2 separate regions of the Homo sapiens genome follow, and region 1 is linked to region 2. The links are contacts of gene promoters, found by promoter capture Hi-C in blood cells and fetal thymus (Javierre and others, 2016). All regions are on one chromosome and are shown on one strand. Each heading gives the region's core, a stretch centred on a gene start or on the middle of the fragment in contact. The rest is flanking DNA. Distances are from core to core; before and after follow the strand shown. Region 1 overlaps SIK3 (SIK family kinase 3). Region 2 holds the start of APOA4 (apolipoprotein A4).

What was found. Contacts are between HindIII fragments. The CHiCAGO score rates a contact against its expected background, and 5 or more counts as called.
Region 1: a contact is called between a fragment that was not itself captured here and the fragment with the promoter of APOA4 in region 2, in 1 of 17 cell types (activated CD4 T cells). The highest score is 5.0, in activated CD4 T cells.

The regions. Positions count from the first base shown.
Region 1 is chr11:116,956,904-116,960,853 of GRCh38, reverse strand. It overlaps SIK3 (SIK family kinase 3), which reads left to right. Exons shown (of 25, transcript NM_001366686.3): 2 at 3,790-3,906. Among named protein-coding and RNA genes, the nearest start is that of APOA1, 120 kb to the right of the region's middle. The HindIII fragment of the contact is 1,562 bases long and covers 1,832-3,393 here.
Region 2 is chr11:116,822,054-116,826,337 of GRCh38, reverse strand. APOA4 (apolipoprotein A4) reads left to right here and starts at 3,034. Exons shown (of 3, transcript NM_000482.4): 1 at 3,034-3,195; 2 at 3,553-3,679. The coding sequence starts at 3,147. RefSeq lists enhancers at 531-825, 680-1,046. The HindIII fragment of the contact is 18,172 bases long and covers 1-4,284 here.

The DNA of each region.
Region 1 (3,950 bases), core at 1,363-3,862, 130 kb before region 2:
TGATTCCAGAAGAAAATAAAATAACAACAGCACTACCTGTAATTAACATATATTGCCTGTTTACTGTGCCAGGCATTATATTAATCAGGTTGCATGTATTAGCTTTGTTAATCCCCAAAATCACTTTAAAGTAGGTTCCATTGTTGCCCACATTTTACAGATAGGGAGCCATTGGAAAATTAAGTAACCTGTTCTAGGTTATATATTAAGGGATAGTTCCAAGATTTTGAATCTAAGTAGCTTGTCTTCAGAGTCCTTGCTTTCAGTACTATATTCAACTGCTAAATAAAGCTTCACTTTGGTTTTTTTGTTTTGTTTTGTTTTTTTGTTTTGGAGAAAGTGTCTCATTCTGTTGCACAGATTGCAATGCAGTGGCGTGATCACGGCTCACTTCACCCTTGCTAGGCTCATGCAATCCTTCTGTCTCAGCTTCCTGAGTAACTGGGACTACAGGCACACACTACCACACCTGGCTAATTTTTTTATTTTTTGTAGAGATGAGGTCTCACTTTGTTGCCCAGGCTGGTCTTGAACTCCTCGCCTCAAGCCATCCGCCTGCCTTTAACTCCCAAAGTGCTGGAATTACAGGCGTGAACCACCGTGCCTGGCCCAAAGCTTCACTTTTCAATGTCTTCTGGAATCTGAACTCTCACTGAAGAGTAGACAGGAGTTTGATGTTTTAATCTATTAAAACTTCTTTGTACGTGCCTTCTAAGAACAGATTATATTCAATGCAATTTTTCCTGAAAAGATGAAGTACATTTGTTTGTAAAATTCATGTATGTATGTATTTATTTATTATAGTACATATTTATGGGGTACATTTGATATTTTGCTGCATGGATACAACATGTAATGATCAAATCAGGGTAATTAGGATATCCATTACCCCAAACATTTATCATGTCTTTCTGTTGGTGACATTTCAAATCTCCTTCAGCCATTTTGAAATATGTAATAAATTATTGTTAATTATAGCCAACAAAAGGCATTATTGCTAGTACAGATATTTCTTGACTTATGATGGGTTACGTCCCAATAAACCCATTATAAGTTGAAAATATGGTAAGTCAGAAATGCATTTAATTCACTCTATTGTTATCTACCCACGTGATTGTGTGGCTGACTGGGAGCCACACAATCTCTGTTTACCATTATGAAGATCCTATTGCTTCAGAATGCAAATGAAATTTAGAGTGAGTGCCTTGTGAATCAGGGAGGCCCCACTATATGACTCCCTGTGATCTCTTGGAGGTGAAAGAATGCACAAATTTCATAAGTTAACCTGAAGGTCACCCGCTTTTCCCCAGTTACATTGTACATGCCATCAATTAGTAGGGGGTGGGCAGAGGTGGAAGATTTCAGGCACAGGCCTTAGACAGTTGATGCCCTCTGTTATTAAGGTAAATAAATCCTAGCAGTTCTTCCCACCTTTTGCACATCATGGCATGCACAGAAAGTTGAGATTGGAGGTGATCCATTATTGCTTGTAACCCATTTCCAACACACTTGTTTGGAAGTTCTTTTTTTTTCTTTTGAGACAGGGTCTCATTCTGTTGCTGGCACGATCATAGCTCACTGCAACTTCAGCTCCCGGGATCAAACTGTCCTTCCACCTCAGCCTCCTGAGTAGCTGGGACTACAGACACATGCTACCATGCTCGGCTAATTTTTAAAAAGTTTTTTAGTAGAGATGGGGTTTCACCATATTGCCCATGCTGGTCTTGAACTCCTGGACTCAATCAGTCTGCCCTCCTTGGCCTCCGAAAGTGCTGGGATTACAGCTGTTTGGCAGCTCTGCTATGGGGATATATCTGCAAGTTTCTAAGCTTGTTATATTTATGAAAGCATTCTGTACATTACAAGGTGCCATTCACATGTAAGATTTTATTAATAATGACTATTAAGACCAAGCTATTTGTTCTAGGAAGAGACATTGTGTACCATGATTTTTTTTGTTGTTGTTTTGGGAGCTGTCCTGAGAGAAGCAGGAGCAGATGCTAGACCAGTTGTGGAGTTAAGGTCTTGTATGTGATCTGGTGCAGTAATGAGGAGAAGTAGAAATGCAGGTGGTCAAGGGTTATATTATCCAAGACTTCTTACAGGAAACCAAGCAGCTGGTGAGATCCTCATTAAATTCTCTACCTTCTTCTCTGCCTATCCCAGTTCTCTCTGTAGTGAAATTCTGCTTTCTTTGTCAAGTCTTTCCCAGACTTTTTCTACCTCTTCTCCTGTAGGTGAAGGTCATTCACCATCCTCTGTCTGTTGTTATACCTGGTACATAGCTCCATTGCTTGTACTTCCAATGCTGCATTGTTTTCAGTTCCACACATCTTTTTTCCTTTTTAGACTGTGATCTCCTTGAAGTTTAGGCTGTGTCTGATTAATCCTTGTAGCTCCAGCCACACCCAGCTCCTTTCATCACACTCCCTCGTTAGGCATGGCTTGAATGCTCTTTGAGTACAGCTGAAATTTATCTCCCTGTGCCTTTCTCCCGTGGGTCCTCATTTTAACACCTGAAACAGCTTCAGATAAAGTTACTTTTATGCCAGCCATTTATACATCTGAATAATCTGCCACGTATGGCTCCAAACAGTCTTTATTTCTCTGAGCTAAACATTTTTACTTTTGTAATTTTGTTTTCCTGATTTTTTCCTCAGTAAGTACTGTATATGTTCCCTTTACCTCTCTGGTGCATAGAATCTTAGAATGTTAAGATTTGGAGAGGACTAGAGTTTGACTAGTCTAGGTTCTTCATCTAACCAGTATTGCTTCCATACTGATTACATAATTGAAACTGAGATATAGACATATTTTGGAGCAACACAAATATTTTAAGTATTTCACTGAGGAAGTTTAGATTTAGTAAATTTTTAAAAGTCCTTCATCGTTCATTCTTCATTAAAATGTATTTGCTGATGAGTATCTTATTAAAAGGGGGCACATTGGAAAGATATGTTTTATGATGCAGTGCATGTATGCTAAAGAAAGATCTTCAGATTCTTATAACATTCTTATTAAGAATTTGATTCTAAAGCCAAGCTACCTAGGCTTCAATCCTGCACCTGCCACATACTAGGTGTAAATTACTTAATCTTGGGTTAATTACTTAATCTCTGTGTGCCTCAGTTTCTGTATTTCTAAAGCAAGGTTAATGATAAGGTGGGTGTTAGGAGGTTTAAATGAGTTAGTACTTCCAAACCACTAAGAGTTATGCCTGGCCCATAGTAAACATTTCGTATATGGTAGATGCTGCTACTGCTGCTGCCACCACCATCACTGCTACTATTATTATTATTATTGAGTTCTACAAGCATCTGGTGAGATGTGTAAAGCCCCTGTGAAAGTTCTCATAGAACCTTAGTAAGACACCATGTATTTATGATACAAGCTTCTTGCCTTTTTAAAAATTTTTTATTTTATTTAAAGCTTCTTGTCTTAATGAGAGACCCTGTATACCACTCTGCACTGAAACATGATTTGACCCAGACCGTAACGACATCTATGGAGTAATAAAGTATTTTTTCATAGGATTTTACCGTATAAGCAATTGAAGAAATGGCAGAAGACCCATTAGCTTTTGGAGTCTGTTCCTTTGAGACCAACTTGCTAGGAATCCATTTCCTATCTTTTTAAAAAGAGTAAATTAATTTTCCTCATTGACATTCTGTAAACAGAATACTGGCAGCTTATATTTTATGGAACGTAATGTTTTAAAGTGAACCTAATTTTTCTTAGTAAACTGCTTTTAATAATGCATCAGAGTAATTTTTTTCCCTCTGTTGTCAGGTTGCTATCAAGATCATAGATAAGACCCAGCTGGATGAAGAAAACTTGAAGAAGATTTTCCGGGAAGTTCAAATTATGAAGATGCTTTGCCACCCCCATATCATCAGGCTCTACCAGGTAGGATCATTAGTGTATAGCAGATAGCTGCAAAGAACCCAGAA
Region 2 (4,284 bases), core at 1,785-4,284:
CCTCCTCCCCTCTGGCCTGGGGAAGGGACAGGGGCACTGAGTACTGACCTTTGCTCCCGCTGCAAGCTGGACTGTGCCTGATTCAGGAGCAGGGTTGGGACCGATGGGTTCCAGGGAGGTGAGCCTTGCAGGAGTAAGACGTGGCTAACATTTAGTGATCACTTTTCCTATGTGCCAGACATTGTTGCAAGCACTATAAGATCATCTCAGTGAATCCTCACAGCCTAGGAGGCAGGTACAATGGTTATGTCTCACCAAGGTAACTGAGGCTCAGAGAGGTTATGAGACTTGCCCAAGGACACACAGGCAGTACGTGTTGGAGCCTGGATGCCAAGCCAGGGAGTGGACTCCAGCATCTGACCCCAACAATCACGGAGAGATGGCACAGGCTGCATCAAAAAGGAGGCAGCATGGTAGCGTGGGGACCACTACAGGGCAGTGGGGACCCAGCAGAAGGGGTGCCAGAGTCAGGAGGTCATTTGACTGCCTTTGACCCTAGGAAACATTAAGCCACTTCTGGAAACTGAAAAAATGAACACAAAGCAAATTAGAGTTAGTACAATTGTGGTCTACTCTGATGGCGTTCATTTTTACAAATAAATGTAGCTCACTGTTGTCAGGCACTGCACTCACCGACAGGAGCCAATAGTGCAACGTGCCTGGATGTCACCTCATAGTCACTAGGAGTGGTGTGGTCCGGCAGAGGGACCCATGCTGACGTGGTGTGTCACCTTCTCAGTGGATGTTTGTGTGTGATTATGCATGCAGCCTCATTTAGAGATCCAATAGACATCTAAGTAGAAGACCTCCTGGGCACCACCACCATTGCCCTCCATCCCCCAATGGGAGGTCCCCTGAGAGCCTCAGGTCCCAAGATTCTGCTCAAGCCAGCTGCTCCTGCCCAGGGAGTGTGGCTGGGGGGCAAGAAGGGCAGGAGTCAGGCCTCAGGCTGGTCCCACCCATCACCCTGCCTCTGGCCCACCTGGCGCCCCTCAGAGGGCTGAGTCTCACTCTGCCACTCTCACTAGAGGAGGGAGCACTCTGCTACCCTCCCTGCTTTGCTCCAAATCAGGAACACAGTATGATTATTATACAGTATGATTATTATAATAACAGCAACTATTTTTCAGAGCTTACTCTGTGCCAGGAGCTCTATAGGCAGCCCTCTGTATCCTTGGTTTCTGTGTCCATGGATTCAACCAACCTTGGATTGAAAATAATTTTTTAGGCCGGGCGTGGTGGCTCACGCCTGTAATCTCAGCACTTTGGGAGGTTGAGGCGGGCGGATCACGAGGTCAGGAGATCGAGACCATCCTGGCTAACACGGCGAAACCCCATCTCTACTAAAAATACAAAAAAAAAAAAAAAAATTAGCCGGGCGTGGTGGCGGGCGCCTATGGTCCCAGCTACTTGGGAGGCTGAGGCAGGAGAATGGCGTGAACCCGGGAGGCAGAGCTTGCAGTGAGCCGAGATCGTGCCACTGCACTCCAGCCTGGGTGACAGAGCAAGACTCCATCTCAAAAAAAAAAAAAAAAAAAAAAATATATATATATATATATATATATTTTTTTTTTTAAATTGCATCTGTGGGCCGGGTGCAGTGGCTCATGCCTGTAAGCCCAGCATTTTAGGAGGCAGAGATTGGAGGATCACTTAAGGCCAGGAGTTGGAGACCAGCCTGAGCAACATAGCGACACCCCATCTCCATTAAAAACAATGTTTTAAAAAAATTGCATCTGGGCAGGGCGCAGTGGCTCACGCCTATAAGCCCAGCACTTTGGGAGGCCCACATGGGAGGATTGCTTGAGGCCAGGAGTTGGAGACCAGCCTGAGCAACATGGTGAAACCCCGTCTCTGCTGTAAATACACAAATTAGCTGGGCGTGGTGGTGGGTGCCTGTAATCCCAGCTACTCAGGAGGCTGAGGCAGGAGAATCACTTGAACCTGGGGGGCAGAGATTGCAGTGAGCTAAGATCGTGCCACTGCACTCCAGCCTGGGTGACAGAGTAAGACTCCATCTCAAAAAAAAAAAAAATTGCACCTGTACTAAACATATACAGACTTTTTTGGTGATTACCTCCTAAACAATACAGTATAACAACCATTCACACAGCATTTCCGTCGTATTAGGTATTATAAGTAATCTAGAGATTTAAAGTATGTGGGAGGCTGTGCTTAGGTTATATGCAAATACTATGCCATTTTATATCAAGGACTTGAACATCCATGGATTTTGGTATCTGCAGAGGGTCCTGGAATCAATTTCCCATGGAGACTGAGAGATGACCGTACTACCCACTTCGCAAGCAATGTCTTCTTTAATGTACTGAACCATCCCATTGTTCAGAGGAGAAACTGAAGCTCAGGGCTTTGAATAACTAGACCAAGGAGGCACAGCATGGGAGTGGGACATGAAGCACTCTACAATTAACCCTTTCAGGACAAGGCCCTGTCTCCCACACCCATCTGCCCAAAGGCTCTCCAGGGCCCCCTCCTCTTGGGTGTACCTTGACAAGAGACCTAGATTTTAGCTCACTATGCTGTCTGCAGTCCTGGATGGTCCCACTCCAGTGTCTGGTGCTCTGAGATGGAGTCAGCATTAGTGGCGGATGTGGAGACTGGGGGGACCTGTCTTCACTGGGGTAGACAGAGGAGATGTGGACTTTGCCCCCCATGAGCCCGGCACAAACCCAGAGCCGCCAGCAGGGCCTCGAGGCATCAGTCCCGGGCTCATGGGCTCCCTGAGGTGTTTCTCCTACTGTTTTCCGTTCCCCTCCTCCCTTCCATGCTGAGGTTGGTGGGGTGGGGGTGGGGGTGCCCACGCACGGAACAGCCACCACTTCTAACTATCGCCTGAGCCCTGATCTGCTGTCAGCTTCCACGTAGTCTCAGGGTCACAAAAGTCCAAGAGGCCTCTTGGGAATGTGTCACCTTCCAGCGTGGAGTCACACTGAGGAAGGAGGAGGGGAGGGCAGCCAGGGGGGTGGCGATAGGGAGAGAGTTTAAATGTCTGGCTGGCTCTGAGCTTCAGTCAGTTCCCACTGCAGCGCAGGTGAGCTCTCCTGAGGACCTCTCTGTCAGCTCCCCTGATTGTAGGGAGGATCCAGTGTGGCAAGAAACTCCTCCAGCCCAGCAAGCAGCTCAGGATGTTCCTGAAGGCCGTGGTCCTGACCCTGGCCCTGGTGGCTGTCGCCGGTGAGTAGAAGCTGTCTTTGGATGGCACTCCTGGGCTGCTGCTCTGAGTAGTGCAGGATGGAGGCTGAGCCAAAGCAAAAGGACACTTCTGAGTGCCCATCAGCCCCCAGCTGGACATGAGGTCTGCCTGGCTGCCAAGTGGCTCACAGGAGAGCTGGCCCAGTCCCAGTGGTGGGCCCATTGGCATTGGTGCTATACCAGTTTCACATATCCCTGTGGCTTCCAAAAAGCTAAGCTCAGACAGGGAAAATGGCAGGTTGAGGCACCCCCACCATCATCCAGTCTGCAGCTCAGAGCTGGAGCAGAGGGGCCACACAGGAGACGGGGCCTCATGAATTGCTCTCTGTTACCACCCAGGAGCCAGGGCTGAGGTCAGTGCTGACCAGGTGGCCACGGTGATGTGGGACTACTTCAGCCAGCTGAGCAACAATGCCAAGGAGGCCGTGGAACATCTCCAGAAATCTGAACTCACCCAGCAACTCAAGTAAGAGGGACTACAGTGTGCGGTGGTGACGGGGAATTCTTAAAGGCCATGCAATGTACTGGCAAGGGTTGAGCTTAGAGACAGGAGCCCTGAGCTTAGGATACCCACTGCCCTGCCACTAACTGGCCGGGCCTCTGAACCTAGGATCCACATATGTAAACCGGAAGTTTGGACCGAATAATCCCTGCCATGTCCTTTTGCTTTGACGTTCTAGAGTTTGACAAATGGCCACATCCTATCATTCAGGCTCATGGAAGAGAGGGAGGGAGGAAAATGTCACGTGAGCTGATTTCTAATACGTTTCAGAAAGACAGGCCCCAGTGGAATCAAGGGGAGGGAGGTGGGAATATTTGGGAGGCCCCTGGGCACAGGCAAGGAAAGCAGCACCTTGTGCCACTGGAAGACCCCAGCAGAGGTCAAGAAGACAACATTGTGTTACACAATGTGATCCTATGGCCCAGAACACTCCCTCTGGGAAGGACCTCAAAGTCCCACCCTCTGCAGACAAGGAGGGGAAAGCAAACTGCTGGAGGTGACATGGTGGGTAGATTCTGAGACAAACTATGTGGGAGATCCTGAGATAGAAATTCAGCATCGTAACTTAG